3 separate regions of the Homo sapiens genome follow, and all the other regions are linked to region 3. The links are contacts of gene promoters, found by promoter capture Hi-C in human tissues and cell types (Jung and others, 2019). All regions are on one chromosome and are shown on one strand. Each heading gives the region's core, a stretch centred on a gene start or on the middle of the fragment in contact. The rest is flanking DNA. Distances are from core to core; before and after follow the strand shown.

Region 1 (2,809 bases), core at 310-2,809, 210 kb after region 3:
GCAGAGAAAAGGCAAGAGTCAGTTTCCTTAAGAGATCCAATATTCACAATTGAAGACAGAGTTAGATATAGGATATGTCATTTCATTTCATTACGTGTTGGTTAGCCCCATCCTAAAAAATAGAGGATTAGACAAAATAATTTCTAGGGTCCTTCTAGATTTTCATGACAATTATTTTGTTGCATGATTAGTATTTGCTGATGTACTGTGAGATGTTTGAGTGCCAGTGGTTCTATTGCAATAGAATAAAGCAATGATCCATGTTGCATGGCGTTAGTTGTAGTCTGAAGATGTGAAGGTCTTCAGGTAGAAGAATCAAGGTTCTTCTAAGCAGGAACATCAGGAATGGAATCTGATACTTCTCTTGGAGGAGAAGGGATTCTTAGGGGAGGTTTGCATGATGTGGTTCAGTTCATGAAGGGACTGAAAAAGTTGGGTTTTGATCACATGGGGTGACAGTATCAGTTGTGGAAAATTTTTGTGGTGATTATTTACGTGTAGGACATTGAAGAAGTGGAATAAATGAGGTTGGTTTGGTAGTAGAAGTAATTAAAGGATATAAGGATATAGAAGACAAAGCAAATGTTTTTATAAATGCAATGAATATAAAGTAAAATCTATATCTGTAACAGGCATGACTTCTTAAAGTAGTGTCTATTCTTCAAGAAGGGAGCATGTCTTAGTGTTCAAGTAAGTGTTCAAGTAGTGTTGAACACTTACTTGAACTTAGTGTTCAAGTAGAACTACAGTTTATAAGAAGCAAAACATTCCTTACTGATAAACAGTATTGGTTCATCTCCCTCTACAACATGGATTTGCTTACTTACATTATAGTCACTTGCTTTGAGGCAGTGTGTGTTGCATATATAATCTAGTTTATCCAGTGAACACTAAGACAGTGTTCAACAATAGGGCAGAATATTTCTGCAATATTTCCTTGGAGTTTTCTCAGTCTTTTGCTCTTCCATTTTTCCATTTAGAACTGCCCTCATGCTAGGTTGCGAATATGGTTGCAGAGATGCAGTAGAAGTCTTAATTAAAAATGGTGCTGATATAAGCTTGCTGGATGCGCTTGGCCATGATAGTTCTTACTATGCAAGAATTGGTGACAATCTGGACATTCTAACCTTGTTGAAGACTGCATCGGAAAATACCAACAAAGGTATCAGCAGTTTTCTGTAACTAGAAAAGTCCACATTAACAAAGAGCCACTTTTTAAAAGACTTAGGTAGTAGAACTACAGTTTATAAGAAGCAAAACATTCCTTACTGATAAACAGTATTGGTTCATCTCCCTCTACAACATGGATTTGCTTACTTACATTATGGTCACTTGCTTTGAGGCAGTGTGTGTTGCATATATAATCTAGTTTATCCAGTGAACACTAAGACACTGGAATAACTTCAGAACTGAGAAGGAAGAGTCAAGTGTTTTACTAAGTTTTTTTTTTTTTTTGATGAAGAGGGGTGAACCTCCCAACTTTTTATACTTACGAAGTTTTAAAGAATCATTGTTTAAACATGTATGTAAAATAGTCAGCTGATATTTACCAAATGCCTATGCCATGATTTTTTATGTTTTTTTTAAAAAAAACAGGAACATACAGAAAAGCACAATGAATAGTCACTCATTACCACTGAGAAGCCTCTGTTAACATTTTGAGAAATATCCTTCTAGTCTTTTCCCATTAAATTGAATTCACTGTAAATCTGAATTGTAGCTTACTTTTTTATGTAACCTATTTTGAAGGCCTTTCCCTCAAAAATAGTTTTTCTATAGTATGATTTTTGTTGGTGTATGAGATTCCATTTATTTAAGTTTCATTTAATAAAGCAGTTTTCTACATGTAGTGTTTAAGCTATTTATAATTATTCATTAATACACAAAGGTTATGACTGTCCTTATGCATAAATATTTTAGTATATTTTTATTACCCTTTAGGGTCGGTTCCTAGAAATTGAATCACTGAGTTTCAGGGCATGCACATTTCTTTAAGCCTTTGGTCTATGTTGGCAAATTGCCTTCGAATTTAGGAGCTTTTTAAATTTTCTTCCCCTCTTTTTTTTTAGATATGGGGTCTCCCTTTGTTGCCCAGGCTAGAGTATAGTGGTGCCATCATAGCTCACTGCAATCTCAAACTCCTGGGCTCAAGTTATCTTCCTGCCTCAGCCTCATGAGTAGCTGGGACTACAGGCATGTACCACCATGGCCAGCTAATTTTTTATATTTTTTTTGTAGAGATGGGGTCTTGCTATGTTGCCCAGGCTGGTCTTGAACTCCTAGCCTCAAGTGATCCTCCTGCCCCAGCCTCCCAAAGTGCTGGGATTACAGGTGTGAGCCACCATACCCAGCCTAAATAAATTTCCCATTTTTTACCTGCCTCCAATCCTTAGTCTTTAATCTTACCTACTTGAATATTGTTATAAAAATTTTGCTAATTTGATAGGCAAAAGTGAGATGTCATTATTGTTTCAAGCATACGTTTTAGAAATAAAACTAAAAAGTTGTAAGCTTTAGAGGAAACTCTAAAGTTTATTTATTTAATATTGACTCAATTGTATAGTTAGGGAATGCGTACCTACCCCAAGTTAACCTGCCATTTTGTTGTTTCTCTTTTTCTCTAAATCTTAGGGAGAGAACTTTGGAAGAAAGGGCCATCTTTGCAACAGGTAGATATTAATTTTAATTTTAAATAATTATATGTATTGTATAGTTTAAAGTGCTTAGTAAAACTAGTTAATAGTTAGCATAACTATTCTGAGTTTAAATGCGTTCTATCTCTCTTCTCAGTTAATCAAGCCCGTGTAGA
Region 2 (2,700 bases), core at 108-2,607, 190 kb before region 3:
TTTTCCAGGTATAAAATTATATTGCCTGTGAATGAAGACAGTTTGACTTCCTCTATTCCTATCTGAATGCCTTTTATTTCTTTCTCTTGCCTGATTGCTCTGGCCAGGACTTCCACTACTATGTTGTATAGAAGTAAGAATGGGCATCCTTGTCTTTTTTTCATTTCTCAAGGGGAATGTTTCCAGCTTTTGTACATTCAGTATGATGTTGGCTGTGGGTTTATCATAAATGACTCTTATTATTTTTAGATATGTTCCTTCAATTCCTAGTTTGTTGAGGGTTTTTATCACGAAGGGATATTGGATTTCGCCTAAAGCTTTTTCTACATCTACTGAAATGGTCACATGGTTTTTGTTAATTCTGCTTAGGTGGTGAATCCATTTATTGATTTCCGTATGCTGAACCAACCTTGTATCCCAGGAATAAAGCTTACTGATTGTGGTGAAATAGTTTTTGATATGCTGCTGGGTTTGGTTTTCTAGGATTTTGTTGAGGATTTTCATGTCTATGTTCGTCAGGGATATTGGCCTGTAGTTTTCTTTTTTCACTGTGTCTTTGTCAGATTTTGGTATCAGGATAATACTGGTTTCCTAGAATGAGTTAGGGTAGAATCCTTCCTCCTCAGTCTTTCAGGATAGTTTCAGTAGGACTGGTACCAGTTCTTCTTTGTATGTCTGGTAGAATTTGGCTATGAATCTGTCTAGCCCAGTACTTTTATGGGTTGGTAGGTTTTTTATTACTGATTCAATTTCAGAACATATTAATGGTCTGTTCAGAGTTTCATTTTCTTCCTGATTCAATCTTGGCAGGTTGTGTGCTTCCAGGAATTTATCCATTTTCTCTAGGTTTTCTAGTTTGTGTGCATATAGGCGTTCCTAATAGTCTCTCAGGATCTTTAGTATTTCTGTGGGATCATTTGTAATGTCACCTTTGTCATTTCTGATTGTGCTCATTTGGGTCTTTCTTTTTGCTTTCTTTCTTTCTTTCTTTCTTTCTTTCTTTCTTTCTTTCTTTCTTTCTTTCTTTCTTTCTGTCTTTCTCTCTCTCTTTCTTTCTTTCTTTTCAAAAAACCAACTCTTCATTTTGTGGATCCTTTGTATGTTTTAGGATGGGTCTTAATTTTGTTTAGTTCTGTTCTATTTTAGTTATTTCTTTTCTTCTGCTAGTTTTGAGATTAGCTTGTTCTTTGTTTTTCTAGTTCATTTATGTGTAATGTAATGTTAGATCATTAATTTGAGATCTTTCTATTTTCTTGATGTAGGCATTCAGTGCTATAAACTTCCCTCTTAACAACTGCTTTTGCCTCGTCCCAGAGATTTTGGAAGATTGTTTTCATTCATTTCAAAGAATTTGATAAAAAGACTTTTGAAGTTAACAATGAGTGGAGGCTTCCATCTTGGAAGTCTGGAGTTTTAGTATATTCCCCTGGTGATCTAGCACTTCCTGCAGTGGGAATTGTGGGATTTTCCTGCTATGCTTGTAATGTTGGAAGAATGGTCAGTACATTACTCAAGAGTCTTACTCTCTGCCTATCAGTCACACAGAGGCAGGAGAGTATGTTGACTAGTTTCTCACTTTGGACCTGAAGCTACTTATAACAACCCACCTATAACAACCCACAAAGGCCCACATTGGGCCAAAAAGCATAAGGAGTCCCTTGATCTAACTCCACCGCACAGTAGGATGATAAGACTTTGTTCTGAAAAGCCCTTGGGAATTTCACATACCCTTCCCTTGTCCCCTGGGAGCTGTGTCACCCATGGACACTCTTTCTTTCCTACCCTCACCACTTCCTGTGCTCACCTGGATACTCCTGCTCCCTCACTCCCCTTAGCTCCCCACTCAGGAGTCTCACATCTCTTTGGCCTTCTATGGGGGCTGTCAGAACCATGTCCTGCTTTCATTTAAAGATGAGTAAATGGGGGCTGCAGACACAGGAAGGTAGAGGAGGAAATTTAGAAAAGCAGCTCTAAAAGCCAAAGTTCTATAAGATAATGAAATCTTTCAGATTTTCAAGAATGTCCTCCTCTTAGCACAACTCCTCTGCCTTCTTCTCATCTCCCCATTGATGTCTGCTATGTCTGCAGAAGGGGGTGAGGGTGAAGAAATAGACCCACCCTGCCAGGAAGCCTTCACATCACAGTGGCTGTCTGGGAACCCAGAACTGGGTACATAGCAAGTTGATTTCTGAGACCCCGGGCAGCACATACAAGCTAAAATCTTGCTTTTCTCTGTGGGATGGTCCAGAAAGAATACCATGCTTCAAAGCAATTCTGCATACAAGGTGGTAATTGCAGCTTGGGGAAGGGACCACAAGTGAGGAGTGCCCCCAGGACGTGGATCAAGTTGCCTTGAGAGCACAATTAACACAGCAGGTTACAGACCTTACAGAAATGGAGGCTCACAGGACACAGCAAGGCTCTGCGTTAGTTAATTGATTACATTAGCATATCTAAAGAAAGACTCTGTGGAAACCAGGTAGAACTATGTCTGCTTGGAATCTAGAAAGAACTCAAGCAGAAAGGCACACTTAGGAAAGCCTTGCTAAGGGAGTCAATCCTGAACTGTAGCAGAGGCCAGCTGTTCAATCGCCCTCCCACTGGCTTAGGAGGGGAAATGAAAACACCCGTGGAGTCCCCAGCCTCTACCACAGATAGATCAAAACACTCTTCTCTTGTCTCTGCTCTGCCTCTGCTTCC
Region 3 (2,778 bases), core at 170-2,669:
TTTTGTAATCAATAAAATCACATTAAGTTTTTTAAAGAGGGCTATTTTAGCTTTATGTAGGCAGAAAGTAAGAACTAGCTTTAAACTGGAAATCAAAGCAAATCTACTTAAATTTTTCAGTTTAGAATCTATCTACACTTTAAGTCATGCTGCTATTTGTGTAGAATTTAAAACAATCTTCAATTTAAATGCCAACCTTCTTAAATCTTACTTTGTTTTTTTCAGGAAGCGATGATGTTTGAATAACCAGATGAAGCCCGCAGTTCACCTGAAATGTAAAAATTAAACCATAAAATTTGCTCTTAATACACAAACACATATTTCCAAAAAAAAAAAAGGTACAAACAGAAATACAACAAAAAAATAGAACACAATGCTCTATTTCTGTTTCTGGTAAATGATCTTGTTCTGAGGATTTGCTGAAAACAATAAAATCACATCTAAGAATTAAAAGGTTTCACTGATTTATTTTCCAAAATGTCGGCAGCAATTTAACCCTCTAGTTAGTACCTCAGGCTTTCGACATTTGCCATTCAGGTCTAAATAAACATCTCAATGAGACAGGTGAAGGAGGTGGGAGTCCCTAATGATAAATTCTCTTCACAGTTAAAAGGAAAAGAAAAGAAAAAGGAATTGACTGGCCAAAGGAATTTAAATAAACCCAAGCCTTTCACAGCAGACCAGCTCCACCTTCTGGGGAGCCCAGATCCTGGACAAGACTTTGAGTACCCATCATACAATATTAAATTGTGCCTTGGTCCAGCCCACGAACCTCAAACCCTGGTCAGACAATAGCTTGAGTAGACCCAGCGGTGCCGGTCCTAATAATACAGCCCATCTCCTAGGACAAAGACGCCAGTCAGAAAGAGTACCAGTGGGAAGAAAGAGAAAGTAGAAGGCCCAACTTACGTTGTTCGCAGCCCGGCCAGAAACAGAGCGATATTTCCCGGGAATCATGATAGGAGACAGTCCAGGTTCTCTGTTAGATCTGCCTTCCAGGTGACGCTACAGCGGAGATTCAAAGAGACCCGAAAGAGGTCATCTCCCAGGCAACCTGCTCAGGGTTACCATGGAAACGACCATTTCCGGTCTGGACCTCTCCCGAATCGATAGAGCCACACAGTCGTTGCAGCTTCTAGTTGTATTCGTGAGAGCCCAGTGCGTCACCACTTCCTCGTTCTATTTTCCCAGCCTCATAAAAACAGAGCGGGAGTATTGGGAGGAGGATAAGCTGGGGAAGAGGCTGGCCACACTGGTTGCTATAACCACCACCACTTCCGGTCCGTTCCTCTTTACGGCCCACCTCAGCGCTGCCCGCGCGAAATTTGTATCCCTCTGCTTGTGTCCACTGGCTCCTGGGGAGCAGCGCAGGGAGGAGGAGGAGGAAGATATCAAAGAGCCCTCCCATTGGGGGCCCCAGATCGCCACTTCCGGTGACCAGAGGTAGGGAAGGAAACAATCCCGACCCGGAGTGGACAGGTGAGGAGGGGAGGACTTGCCTCGCCGAGGCCGCTGCGAGGAGCGTGCCCAAGGGCGAAGGTCCAGGGAACCCGGCTCCCGCGCACCGAAGACGGCCGCCATGCCGGCCCGTTGTGTGGCCGCCCACTGCGGCAACACCACCAAGTCTGGGAAGTCGCTGTTCCGCTTTCCCAAGGACCGGGCCGTGCGGCTGCTCTGGGACCGCTTCGTGCGGGGTTGCCGCGCCGACTGGTACGGAGGCAATGACCGCTCGGTCATCTGCTCTGACCACTTTGCCCCAGCCTGTTTTGACGTCTCTTCGGTTATCCAGAAGAACCTGCGCTTCTCCCAGCGCCTGAGGCTGGTGGCAGGCGCCGTGCCCACCCTGCACCGGGTGCCCGCCCCGGCACCTAAGAGGGGAGAGGAGGGAGACCAAGCAGGCCGCCTGGACACGCGAGGAGAGCTCCAGGCAGCCAGGCATTCTGAGGCTGCCCCAGGTCCAGTCTCCTGTACACGCCCCCGAGCTGGGAAGCAGGCTGCAGCTTCACAGGTAAAGAGAGACCACCGAAGGTTGTGTAAGGACCCCTGGACTCTGGCTGGGCTCCTCCACTTAGTGTCACCTTGGGAAAGGCACCTCATCTCGAAAGTTCCTGTTTTCTAATCTGCAAAGTTAGGGGTGTGCTTTAGAGGTGATCTCCAAGGTCCCACTTATCATTAACACTTTGGAATTAAGTGACCCAGTTAATTCCTTCTAACTGCTCCTCCCCCAAAACTCACACACACACACACACACACACACACACACACACACACACACACACACACAGAGTCTTGTCCTGCAGAGTAGTGAGTTGCTTTCACTCGCTGCTCCAGAGTTTTTAAATAGAAAGGGTTTAATTTGAGCAAATCTCCAGGATTGGAGTGCTTGAAACTGTGTTGCATAACATTACATAAGCTTGAGGAAAGTCCCTTATTTGTGTCACAAATGATGGGGCGAAGGAGATGTGGAGCTACAGATGAAGATGATGGAGCTTGCTAATAAATCCCTTCCCACCCCAAGCTTCCTTTATGACTGATAACTAGCTCCAGCTGCCTTTAAGTTCAGTATCCCTAGTGAGCTGACTTTCCCCATCTTGCTCTCTTCTGCCTACTTTTCTGTTCCTTCTAAACATTGTTTGCACTCATTTTGCATCTGGTTACTACTACCTTCTTCCCCACGTACCATTTTAAAGAAAACTTTCCAGCCTTCCTTGTGATAAACTTCAGCCTTGCCACCATTACACAGATTAAATTATAGCAAGAGGTTAGTAATTTCCTCAG

Evidence for each region. The method cuts DNA at HindIII sites, captures the fragments that hold promoters and counts their contacts. A contact is called where the count stands out against the background at its distance.
Region 1: a contact is called between a fragment that was not itself captured here and the fragment with the promoter of THAP10 in region 3, in 2 of the 25 tissues and cell types used here (dorsolateral prefrontal cortex and hippocampus).
Region 2: a contact is called between a fragment that was not itself captured here and the fragment with the promoter of THAP10 in region 3, in 2 of the 25 tissues and cell types used here (H1 embryonic stem cells and aorta).

Annotation. Positions count from the first base shown.
Region 1 is chr15:70,682,618-70,685,426 of GRCh38, reverse strand. It overlaps UACA (uveal autoantigen with coiled-coil domains and ankyrin repeats), which reads left to right. Exons shown (of 19, transcript NM_018003.4): 8 at 981-1,162; 9 at 2,632-2,669. Among named protein-coding and RNA genes, the nearest start is that of SALRNA2, 49 kb to the right of the region's middle. The HindIII fragment of the contact is 3,042 bases long and covers 39-2,809 here.
Region 2 is chr15:71,085,671-71,088,370 of GRCh38, reverse strand. The region is part of intron 3 of LOC105370886 (a long non-coding RNA gene); the gene reads left to right. Among named protein-coding and RNA genes, the nearest start is that of THSD4, 28 kb to the left of the region's middle. RefSeq lists an enhancer at 2,198-2,700. The HindIII fragment of the contact is 3,201 bases long and covers 1-2,700 here.
Region 3 is chr15:70,891,074-70,893,851 of GRCh38, reverse strand. THAP10 (THAP domain containing 10) reads left to right here and starts at 1,419. Exons shown (of 3, transcript NM_020147.4): 1 at 1,419-2,008. The coding sequence starts at 1,580. LRRC49 (leucine rich repeat containing 49) reads right to left here and starts at 1,026. Exons shown (of 16, transcript NM_017691.5): 1 at 910-1,026; 2 at 212-268. The coding sequence starts at 957. RefSeq lists an enhancer at 1,066-1,764. The HindIII fragment of the contact is 16,576 bases long and covers 1-2,778 here.